Regions from separate parts of the Homo sapiens genome. Here region 1 is linked to region 2. The links are contacts of gene promoters, found by promoter capture Hi-C in blood cells and fetal thymus (Javierre and others, 2016). All regions are on one chromosome and are shown on one strand. The core of a region is centred on a gene start or on the middle of the fragment in contact, and the rest is flanking DNA. Distances in the headings are between cores, read along the strand shown.

What was found. Contacts are between HindIII fragments. The CHiCAGO score rates a contact against its expected background, and 5 or more counts as called.
Region 1: a contact is called between a fragment that was not itself captured here and the fragment with the promoter of REEP1 in region 2, in 1 of 17 cell types (total CD8 T cells). The highest score is 5.7, in total CD8 T cells.

What each region holds. Positions count from the first base shown.
Region 1 is chr2:86,410,802-86,416,818 of GRCh38, forward strand. No RefSeq gene overlaps it. Among named protein-coding and RNA genes, the nearest start is that of KDM3A, 28 kb to the right of the region's middle. The HindIII fragment of the contact is 200 bases long and covers 3,263-3,462 here.
Region 2 is chr2:86,332,602-86,338,913 of GRCh38, forward strand. REEP1 (receptor accessory protein 1) reads right to left here and starts at 5,025. Exons shown (of 9, transcript NM_001371279.1): 1 at 4,878-5,025. The coding sequence starts at 4,909. The HindIII fragment of the contact is 12,312 bases long and covers 1-6,312 here.

The sequences.
Region 1 (6,017 bases), core at 2,113-4,612, 77 kb after region 2:
TGGCCACAAAAAGGAATGAAATACATGCTACAACATGGATGAATCTTGAAAACATTATGCTAAGTGAAAGATGCCAGTCTTAAAAGACTGCATATTGTGTATGACTCCATTTATATGAAATGTTCACAGTAAGGAAATTTACAGTGACAGAAAGTAGATTAGTGGTTGCTTAGGGCTGGAAGGGATGGAGTATAGGGAGGTGATAATTAAGGGTACAGGGTTTCTTTTTGATGTGATGAAAATCTTCTAAAATTAATAGTGGTGATTGTTGCATATGTCTGTAAATATACTAAAACCATTAAAGTGTATCCTTTTAAATGGGTGAATTGTATGGTATATGTATATCTCAATAAAGATGTCTTTAAAAAGCCGGCTGGGTACGGTGACTCACGCCTGTAATCCCAGCACTTTGGGAGGCCGAGGTGGGCAGATCACAAGGTCAAGAGATCGACACCATCCTGGCCAACATGGTGAAACCCCGTCTCTAATAAAAATACAAAAAATTAGCTGGGCATGGTGATGCGTCCTTGTAGTCCCAGCTACTGGGGAGGCTGAGGCAGGAAGATCGCTTGAACCAGGGAGGTGGAGGCTGCAGTGAGCCGAGATCGCGCCACTGCACTCCAGCCTGGAGACAGAGTGAGACCCTGTCTCAAAAAAAAAAAAAAAAAAAAAAAAAGCCAGCTTCCTGACTCAAGGCAGGATCAGCACTGTAGTACAATTCACACTTCAGAGGTTCCTGAGTGGTCAGGCTGCTCAGGCTGAGACCACATCCTTGCCTAGCTCCTTCTCCCTGTTATCTAGCTTCCTCATTCCCTCTCTTCTGACGGCGTGGCCTTAACAAATCACATGCCCTCAATAATTCCATCTCAGGTTCCGCTTCCAGGGAACTTGATGATTGGTATTGAAATCAGTTCTAGGAAGCAGACTCTAAGAATGGAAATTGCTATGACATTCACCTGGGGTGAACTAGGATGGAATATACAGATGGAATACACAGGCTCATATCACCTCTCTGGCATTTGAGAGTACAGGAGTGTATCAGGTATCTATTGCTATGTAACAAATCACCCCTAAACATAATGGCTTAAAAATGATAATTTATTATTTCTGACAATTCCGTCATAAATTCTGTTCCAACGATCGTCATGGCATGGGTTGACTGGCTAATTCTTCTACTCCACATGGTATAGACTGGGGTAGGCGATGAACTGGTAGGTCAGCTGGGCTCAGCTGAAGTTAGTAGTCTATTTTCTTTTCTAAAATAGCCTGCTTGCTTGCTCTTTCTTTCTTTCTCTTTCCTTCTTTCTTCCTCCCTTCCTTTCTTCCTTCCTTCCTTCCTTTCTTCCTTCCTTCCTCTTTCTTTCTTTTCTTTCGTTCTCGTTCTTTCTTTCTTCCTTTCTTTTTCTTTCTTTCTTTCCTTCCTTCTCCTTCCTTCCTTCGTTCCTTTGTTCCTTCCCTCCTTCTTCCTTCTTCTCCCTTTCTTTTCTCTCTCTCTCTCTCTCTCACAGTGGTGTGATCATAGCCCACTGCAGCCTTGAACTCCTGGGTTCAAATAATCCTCCTGCCTCAGCCTCCCAAGTAGCTGGGACTACAAGCATGTGCCACCATGCCCAGTTAATTTAAAAAAAAATTTTTTTTTTTGAGATGGAGTCTCACTCTGCCACCCAGGCTGGAAAGCAGTGGCACAATCTCGGCTCACTGCAACCTCCGCCTCCTGGGTTCAAGTGATTCTCCTGCTTCAGCCTCCTGAGTAGCTGGGACTACAGGCAGCCACCACCACGCCTGGGTAATTTTTTTTGTATTTTTAGTAGAGATGGGGTTTCACCATGTTGGTCAGGCTGGTCTCAAACTCCTGACCTCAAATGATCTGCTGGCCTTGGCCTCCCAAAGTGATGGGATTACAGGTGTGAGCCACCACGCCTGGCCTAAAAAAAAATTTGTAGAGAAGGGTTGTCTCACTTTGTTGCTCAGGTCCTGGCTTCAAGTAATCCTTCCACATCAGCCTCCAAAAGAGTTGGGATTACAGGTGTGAGCCATTACACCTGGCCAAAACACAGATGTGTTTTTTTTTAAAAAAAAAAACACAATTGGAGTAAATGATACACATTGTTTTACACTGGCTTTTCCATTTAATAATATGGCCTGACAATCATTCCCTGCTACTTCCTTTCTTTTTCCCTGCTGCATAGTATCCCAGAGTTGTATCATACTTTATTTAACCAGTCTCTTAGTCTTATAGTGAACGTCTTTACATAAGTCACTGAGCATGTGCACATGAGCCTGAGTAGACCAGGAGGACAAAGTCTTTAAGATGGAACTGTAGAGTCAAGGGTAAGTGCTTACTACATTATGATAAATGTTGCCAAATGGTTCCTCCTAGAGTCTCAGCCTCAGTTTTCTCATCTGCAAAGTAGGTTTTAATAAAAGTAACTACTCCAAAGTGATGTTGCAAGGTTTCCACTCAATAATCCATGCCAGTAACATAAGGCAAGAAGATTCCACCCACACAGATGCCAAAAAGAAGATGGATCTTAAGTAAAGCCACCCTTAGAGAAGCTAACGGTTAGAAAAACCTTAGGAAAATTGACCAGTCTGGGAGTTTACTATGGAAATCAAGAGTCATTGGGTCATCCACATCAACAATGAAATCACCTGGGATGATTGCAGAACTACTGTCAAGCAGGAACTAAATTCTTCCTGGAATGTGGATGAGTGAGAATAAGGAGGGAAGGTGATACAAGCCAGTGGAACCAGTCTCTAAGGAGGAGGTGTTTTTACACAAAGGTGGAAAGGTTTGGGTTAAAAAGAGCACTGGCCTTTCCTCTAGGATGAAGAATGAAAATGAACTCCCCAACTCAAGATGCTACAGCAGAAGAGGGTTGCAGTTAAGGCCAGGAGATGAAAGAGGTTGAGGCTAGGAAGACTGGCTTAGCAGAGAATGCAGTTCCAGAGATGCAACTCATTGGTTCCATACAGAGTTCTGAGGGCTAGTCCTGACCTAGGTTTGGGAGGGGTGGGAACACTAGGAGGGTGGAGAGAAGGAGTGGAAGGACAGCGACAGCGCAGCTCTGGCAAATGAGAGGAGGTCTCCACAGCCGGGAAGTCTCTCGTGTCAGGAAGGGTGATTTATTTCTCTTATTGTTCTTTTCAAGTTTTTTCAGTAGTGCTGAAGAGCATGTGAAATCTATTAAGAAAAGCCAGCGAGACAGCTGTAGCCATAGCTGCAAATAAATCTCCCCAGTTTACGATGAGTTTTTCCCGAAGCTTTCAATTTCCCACCAACTTCCTGATAACCATTATGAAAACAAACAGTAAAGAGTCAAATTTAAGAATAGGAAGAAATAGATAAAACTATTAAGATGAAAAGCTATGTTTCTAAGGGGAAAAAGTAAAAAAATAAAAAGAGGAAGGAAAGAATCATGGTTCAAAGGCATGAAACAAATTCAAAACAGAAAAACCAGAAGCTTAATCATTCATCTGGGAAAATTAATGGCACAGTTTAAGTATAAAATTATTTTTAAAAGAATTTAAAATCATATAAAATATGAAAATGAACAGCAACAAAAAGTACCAAAATGACCTTTAAATAAATCCCAAAGCCAGTATGCCATGCTCAGTTAATAAAAGGGAATAAAAGGCAAAGAGCAGAAATTATAAAATAAATAAAAATAAAGAAGCTAAATATAAAGTTCTTTAAATGGCCTATAAAACTAAGCTAAATAATTTAAAACATAAATAATTTTTTAAAAAGACGGAAACAAGTAAAACTAGAAGATCAAAAATATTGAAGATAAAATAGTGATTGCTAAAGTATAGCAGGGTGAAAAAAGAAAAAGATTAAAGAAAGAAAAACAGCCCCCCAAAAACATTAAAAATAAAACAAAATGCTAGAAATAATTGTATGCAATTGTTCAAATTGCATACAAAATAAAAAGTTTAGGAAGAAAACATTCAAAACAGAAATATGAAAAGATTGGAAAGATAAAATTAGAAAATAGCAAAACTTGAAAGGTGAATAAAATAATACAATGTCAGAATAAAAAAACATACTAAGACAACACAAAGGTACAAAGGCAAAAATACTTCAGATTAAATCCTTAATGAGGTACAAAATGCACATGAAAAATATTTAAGGGTGAGTGTTTAAGAAGGAATTTAGGGTTGCAGTAGCCACGACAGGGAACTGAAAGGAGGTCCTGGATGGGGGCAGAGAAAGGGAGCAGGACCCCAGCCCCCACCCCCCAGTGGGAGCCCCCGGAAAGCTTCTCCAGGAAAGGAACCACACTGCAATAATAAGCAGCTGGCAGCCCAAATCTGTCAAAGCAACAGAGCCTGCCAGGAGGCCCCCTCACCCCTTGCATGTGCCCAGCGGCAGCTGCAGCAGTCAATAATCTCTATGGATGACAGGCACCTTTTCACTCTGAGAGTCATAAACAGTACAGGACCTGTAAACACATGCACCAACTTGAAGACACACTAATTCCTCCTTTGTAGCTCCATGCTCTTAGGTAAGTTTCCTAACTTCTCGAAGCCTCAAGTTTCTCATCAGAAAAACAGGAATAATTACACCTATCTTATAAGGCTATTTTGAAGACTCCACAAGATAAAGCTTACAAATTATGTTACAAACCATGAATGAATGACAGTCTTTATTATTTATATTATTCACTTGCTAGAAGAAAAAAAGTTCTTTTTTATTACAGCTATACAGAAAAAAAGACAAAATATTTTTAAGGTGTTAGGATTTTCTTGAGGGGGAACCGAAAAGGCTCAACTGGGATATCTTTTTTTTTTTTGGCTTAAAACACCACAAATTTATTATTTTACAGTTCTGGAGCTCAGAATGTTTAAAGTCAAGGTGGCAACAGAGCTGTGTTCCTGTTGGAGACTCAAGGGGAGAATCCATTTCCTTGTCTCTTCCAGCTTTCAATGCCACCTGCATTCCTTGGTTTTTGACCTCTTGCCCCCATCTTCAAAGTCAGCAGCATCTTCAACCCTCCCCCTCCCTTTCTTTCTCTTCCATGACTCCCATTTCCATTATCACATCTCCTTCTGAATCTATCTTTCTGAATCTGAAAAAAGACTTTTGTGATTATATCAGGCCCACTTGGATAATCCAGGTTAATCTTCCCATTTCAAAATCCTTAACTTATACACATCTGCAAAGTCTCTTTTGCATGTAAGGTGACACATTCACAGGTTCCAAGGATTAGGATATAGACATCTTTAGGGTATCATTATTCTGTCTACCACATCCCCTGAAAGGATTAGCCTAGTATCCATTGAAATGTGCATAGGTTTAAGCCCTAACTCTTAGTAGGGGCAAATTATTCAGATCTGGCTCTGAAGACCATCTAGACATCAGACCTCTGCAGTTAAGATTGTTGCTCCAGATCCTTGATCCTTATGCAAAAGGAGCCCAGCACTGAGTCCGGTGGCAAACAGAATCTTCCTCAAAAAGTGCCAGGGGGAGGAGGACTGGAGGCCCAGTGGTTTGTGGTGAAAGCCAAGGGGGCAATGTGCCCTAGACATGTTACCATCCCTGCCCAACAGGAAGTCACAAGGAAGGTAAAAAAGGAAGGAAAACTGGTCAGAAGGAGAAAGAACTCAACCAGCTTTCTACACTTTCTCAGCTCCATTTGAATAGGCTGCATGTGTGTGCGTGTGTGTATGGTGAAATTCACATAACATAAAATTCACCATCTCAATTATTTTAAAGTATACAGTTCAGTGCTGTTAGTACCTTCACAATGCTGTGCAACCACCACCACTGTCTAGTTCCAGAACATTTTCATCACAACCCCCTATGAAATCCCTATATCCACTAAGCTGTCACTCCCCATTGCCCACTCCTTCCAACCCCTAGCCACCATTAATCTTCCTTCTGTCTCTTTGGAATGTCATATTCTGAATATTTCATATAAATTGAATCACACAACATGTGGCTTTGTGTCTGATTTCTTTCACTTAGCCTACTGTTTTCAAGGTCCATCCCTGTCGTAGCACGTGTCAGTACT
Region 2 (6,312 bases), core at 3,775-6,274:
AAGATAGCGGGCTTCAGAAGGAAGTGGGGAGACTGACCCAGTAATAACTAGGTGAGACCCTCACTTGTCAGCTAACCTCAAATAAGACACAGTGGGAAGAAGTGCATGAAAGCTACTTCTCAGCAGACAGGCAGGATTAGCAAACAAAGAAACAGGGCAGCTCAACAGCGGAGAAATCTAAGCTAGTATTTTTCACTTCCTTGAGGATACTCCTCCTGTTTATAAATAAATGTGATGCATACAGGCCAGCTGGGGAAGGAAGGGACCTAGAGGAACACTGACTCTTGGAGCTCTTAGGACCTGCAAGGTGACTGTGGCCAAAAACCTGTCTCTTAGACAGGGAGCTGGCCCAGGTGGGTGGGAGTTGCCCTTAGGACTGTGATAGTGAGTCAGACCAGCACTGGGACTAGAACCCATGTCTGCTGCCTACTAGCCTAACATCTTTCCTTTCACAATTCAACCGAAACATTTACCCAGCTCCCACAGTGTACTACAGCACAGTGCCAGGAAATCAATCCTCAACCAACTGGAACCCTCCATTAACTGAATCAGTTTCCTGCATGCCACATTTTAAAAGCAGGCCCCAAAGAAAAGCTAGCTTATATTTAAGGATTTACGATATTTTCTTTTTTTTCCATTTGTTTTGCAACAGTTGGGGAACATCTTGAGGACAATCCACATTCCTCCCAGCTCCATCCATTTGCACATCCCTGACCCAGGACAGACTTCATGCTCCAAATCCCAGTCCTGGAACTTAGCCAGATCTTCAGCCATCAAACTAAGACTCTGTCTTGATCATCACACTGTATTTTCTAAAAACTAGTATTTTTTAAAATGTGCAATGTGGAAATAAAATGTTTTCTGCACAGCCATTAGTTATTCAGAAAATTCTGTGGACTTAGAACTCTCTTTCCCCCATGTAGTGAGCTGGGGTTTTAGTCTACTAATCCCATAAGGGGTGAGAAGCTCTTGATCCGTTCAGCCAACATTCTGGGCCTTGGCCAAGACAATGAGGCAATACCTGCTCCTTAGAATAATGCTTCAAAATGGCATATTCTTCCAAGAAGTCACAGAGCAACGTTGGTATCCCCCCTCCAAAAGGGTGCACAAAAACATGCTCTCCCCAGTTTGAAATTCATTCATGCCTAGGCCTTGAGTTGTATGTAAAGAAAATGAAAGGAGGCAAGCAGGCAAGTCCTAAATAAGCCCCTGTGTCCCATGAAGGTATCAACCTGGTTCTGAGTGCTATTGCACTGAGTATCTCTTCCTTAATTCTTTACAGGCTGAGCCAAGGAAGTTAGGAGAAAGAGAGCTGGCAAGAAATAAGCATCTCAAACTGGTCCTCACTCTAAGAGCCTTGCCCGTGGGCACAAGCCTGTCTTGATGCCTGCTGACCTCCGTCCCCAGGGGACAGCAGTAGCCAGCCACTCTGCTTGTCCCCAGGGCCTAGGATTTCCTTCAACACAACCAACCTTCACTCAGTGCATTCAGGTGCCAGATACTTTGTGAAAGACCCATGGCAGGGATAAAGCGGTTGTAAAGGGAAACAAGCCACAATTGCTTTCTTCAAAATGCTCACGGCCAGTAGCAGCAGAGACAACCACGAGCACTGGCTGGCTGTCCCTGGAGGCCATCAGCTTGTTGTGATACCTCTGGTCGGATGGTTGGGACCACACAAAGACAGGAAGACACTCCCTCTCTATCCTCACAACACAGTGATAGGTCTTCCTTACATGTTCTTTGATGTGACAGAGGCTTACAAAACCATGAAAAGATTACTTATACAAAACGTGACTCGCGGATAAAACCATAGGATGCTCCCATACCAGAGGTCTAGGGAGCTTGAAAGAGATGTTTTTCTCAGTGGGGAGTGAAGGTGGAAAAAGCACTGGACTGGACTAAAAATCCAGAGCCTGTTTTCTTCACCAGCTCATCTTGTGTCCCTGAGCAAGGCATATTTCCTCTGCAGTTTTACAGATGAGGGGGAGGACTAGATCAGTTGTTTTTATTAGCAGTAAAACACATATATTTTTCTGAATTGTATTTTATCTAGAACCCCAATATATAAGACAAACAAAAAGGGAACTGCTTGGGTTGAATCAGGGATGAGGAGCCCAGAGCCCATCTGCTCAGGCTGGGTGGCCCTCAGGGAACCCAGTTTGAAAACCACAGGAGTAAATTAAGTCTGAGAGCCCCTCTCATAGGGTTCCCGGGGAGGACAGAAGGAGGGACTCATCATTGATTTAGTGCTCTCCGTGGTGCTTGGCAATTTATATATCAAGTGTCATGGAAATCTTTGCAACAGCAACATGAGGTTAACTAGCTGTGGACTAGCATCTGCTCTGATCTGAGTTGTGAACTGGGATCTTCTGGCAAGAGGCAAAACTGGGATTTGAACCATGGGCGTTCTGACTCCAAACACAGTATTCCTCCCCTTGATAAGAAGTTCCTCAAGGTATGTGGAGTGTAGAATATTGGGCTGAATCAATAATATCCTTGAATTACAAATATATGTACATATATGCAATACAGGAAAATTTCTTGAAGAATATGCCCTCCATCATTATTATTAGTTATCTCTGTGTGGTGGAAATGTGGATGATTTTCAGTTTATCTTTTCTAATTTTCCTGTAATTAACAAATATTGTCTTCATGAAACAGGTATTGCTTATTAAAAATGATGTTCATAACTCATAATCAATATGCTTATGCTAGGTTTCTACAGGGAATTAGGGACTGGGGGATAAGTGGTATCCCTGACCTTTTGGACTTGATAGTGGAAGTAACAATCCCAAATCCCATCAACTCTCCTTGGGCCACATAATGCTGTTCATTTAAATTCTCTGAAGTCTCGGTTCTAGGGAGTGTGGTTGTTTTAGAAAGCAACAGCACATCCCTGAGACACCTCCCAAATATATGCCTCTCCTCTCCACCCCCATCAGTTGCTCATTGTAAAAAAGGGGGAGGAGCCGGGCGTGGTAGCTCACGCCTGTAATCCCAGAACTTTGGGAGGCCGAAGCGGGCGGATCACTAGGTCAGGAGTTCAAGACCAGGCTGGCCAACATGGTGAAACCCCGTCTCTACTAAAAATACAAAAATTAGCTGGGCGTGGTGGCAGGCGCTTGTAATCCCAGCTACTCGGGAGGCTGAGGCAGGAGAATCGCTTGAACCCAGGAGGCGGAGGCTTCAGTGAGCCGAGACTGTGCCACTGCACTCTCCAGCCTGGGCGACAGAGCGAGACTCGGTCTCAAAAAAAAAAAAAAAAAAAGGGCAGGGGTGAGGGAGGTGCTAATAAAACTAATGATAGTCACATGACCCAGTGCTAATAAAACTAATGATAGTCACATGACCCAGGATCAGATGCCCTCACTCCCAGCCCAGCAGGACCTACAGAGAGCCCACCAGCCAGGCCAGCTCAACTCTCCAGCCCCACCCTGAGGGCTTCCCAGAAGCCACTGGCAATATCGATCCCAGAGAGGAAACACCACCCTGAAGGCAAGACAGTGTTGGTCAGGCATGAGGCTGGGCAAGGCGTGTCAGCCACTTTCCTGTATTATTCATGTCGGCTCTGCCAGCAGAAATCTTCTAAATATTTAACATGCCACCTCAAGGTGCAGCGCAAACACCCCGCAGTCAGGAACAGCTGTGGAGAGGCCTTCACGGAATGACTTGGGGGCTGAGAGGCACAGACACTGGCTTTGGGAGGAAAGCCCTGAATGGTGGCGGGAGACAATGCTGAGATCCACTTCGGAAGGGAAAATCAGTAAAGAAGGGAAGGGAGATGGGTGGTGTTTCAAAACGTGGGGAGTGATGGTGCACAATCACTGGGGTCCAGAGCCCCGTGTTCTCAGACAAAGAAAAAGCCCGAGGTGCCTGCCACCCTCCTCCCCGCCTTAGACTCCCCACACCCATTTCAGCCCCTGCTAGCTACAGCAGGTGGCAAATCTGTTCTGACTCAGGCCAGGATGGTTAGGGAAGAACAGGGACTTGGAACAGCCACGTCTATCTCCAAAGGAGAATAAATCCACCGGGGAAGCTCTTCAAACGCCTACAGGTCCTGGGGCTTGAAGGAGAAAATCGGCCCCCACGCCCACCCCCAATGACTTCACACAGACCTCACCCTAGATGACTCTGCGCTCTCCTGCAAGGCCTGGGAGGTGTCATCGCCACCATGCGGGTGGCTGTCACTTGAAAATTTCCCGTGCATTCCTGGAGGTACCTGCCCCTGTCTCTCAATCCCCTGCAAAAGGAGTCGGAGCCGGGGGCTCCAGGCGTTTACTCCAAGATTCACATGCGTCTTCCCATGTCCCAGCTGCCTTTGCCGCTGTCGATGCAGACACCTAAAAAGGAGGATTTTTCCAACCCCACTGGGAGCCCCGCCTCTGCCTCTCCACCCGTTCCGCGCTGACCCTCCAGGCAGCGCCCCTGGTTCGTCTGCGCTGTCCTTTCCACCTGACAAAAGCTGGGGCGGCGGGGCGCGGCGCCGGGCGACCTCACATTTCTGCCAAAGGAGAGAGACGCGTGTCCGCGGTGCGCCCATTCGGGGCCTCTGCAAATCGACCGAGCTGAGGAACAAAGCGGCCAGCGCGCGGCGAGACGCAGCCCCCACGGAACCCCCGAGCGCCCCAGCCCTCGCCGTCCCGGCCCAGCCCCCCGCAAGCGGCCGCCGGCGCCGGCTGCCTCCTGGGCAGCAGCCGCGTCCTGCGCCGCCCGTCCGCCCGCAGGCGTCCTCGGCGGCTACTGTACCTGCTAAATTTAGCTGCGCCGGGTATTAATAGCCCGAGCCACTGGGACCGGGCGCTGTAGGGGCGCGCGCAGCCCGGGGCCGGGGGCGGGGAGGGAGGGGACGGAGGGGCGCGGGGGAGAAGGCCACTTACACCACCAGCCTGGAGATGATCCATGACACCATGGCGGGCAGGCGGGCGGGCGAGGCCCGGGCGGCGCGGCTCGGCTAGGCTGCGGGCGGCGCGGGCTGCTGCGGCGTTCCCGGAACGTCAGTCAGCTCACGGCAGCCGCCGCCAGACTGAGCGCGCCCGCCGCCCTGCCCGGCGTTCGCGCGTTGGCGCAGCCGCGGCACGTTCTGGCGGCGGCGGCGGCGGCCCCAGCCCCCCGGGGCTCGGCGGGCCCGCAGCGATTGGGCGGTGAGCTGGTCAGGGCACCCGCGGGCCCGCCCCGTCCCGCTCGCCCTGGCCCCCGGCTGAAGGCGGGCGCGTCCTGCGCGCTCCCCGGGGCACCGGCCCCGCCAAAGGAACCCTGCAGCGGCCCCGTTTGCAGGGCAGGGACCCGGGTGCTGCCCCACCCTCAGCGTTCCAGCGGAGAAACTGAAGTCCGAACCTGAACCTCGGGAATCTGTCTGCACCTGTCTAGGTGGGATGCTGTCATCCCTCATTCAGCTAGTGCGTTAGCCTCATAAAGGGTTTACCTGGATCCAGACCTAACCTCTTCAGTCTGTCCGTTGCTCAGCACTTTCTGCATAAGAAACAAACCTGGGCGCTTGCCTCCCTACTTAAAATTCTACAGAGTCCCTATATGATCGTGGTACCTGCCTAGAACCGTGTTGCCAAGACCATTCCCCCAAATAGTCCTCTAGCTCTTTTCCCTCCAGGCATCTTGGACTCAAATATTTGCTGTTTCTTCTTCCCTGTCAGTACACGCCACGCCTCATCGTCCTGCCTTGGTTTGATTCAGCTCCTTCTTCTAGGCTGGGCTGAAGGGCTACTTCTTCCTAGGGAAGGCCTTTCCTTGGGGGCTGCTCCGGGCCCTAGGAGGAGACTAGAAGCTGCGACTGCTTAGCACCAGTGCCCCGCTGAGCCACGTTGAACTCTTAGGCAAAAGGGAACTTGTGCACCCTATATAAACGTTTTTATGTATTTTTTAAAATACCGTATTAAATATTATGGTGGTTTTTTTTGTTGTTGTTGTTTTTTTATGAGACAGAGTCTCGCTCTGGGGTGCAGTGGCGCGATCTCGGCTCACTGCAAGCTCCGCCTCCCGGGTTCAAGCGATTCTTCTGCCTCAGCCTCATGAGTAGCTGAGATTACAGGAGTGCGCCACCACGCCCAGCTAATTTTTGTATTTTTAGTAGAGACGGGGTTTCACCATGTTGTCCAGGCTGGTCTCAAACTCCTGACCTCGTGATCCGCCCGCCTTGGCCTCCCAAAGTGCTGGGATTACAGGAGTGAGCCACCTATTATGTATTTTAGTTGCTGAATTTTATGGCACCTCTTAAATGTTGCACCCTCACTGAGCGCCTCACTCTGCTCACCCTAGTCCCGGCCGCAGATAGTACATTATTCTGTTACACTGGAAACG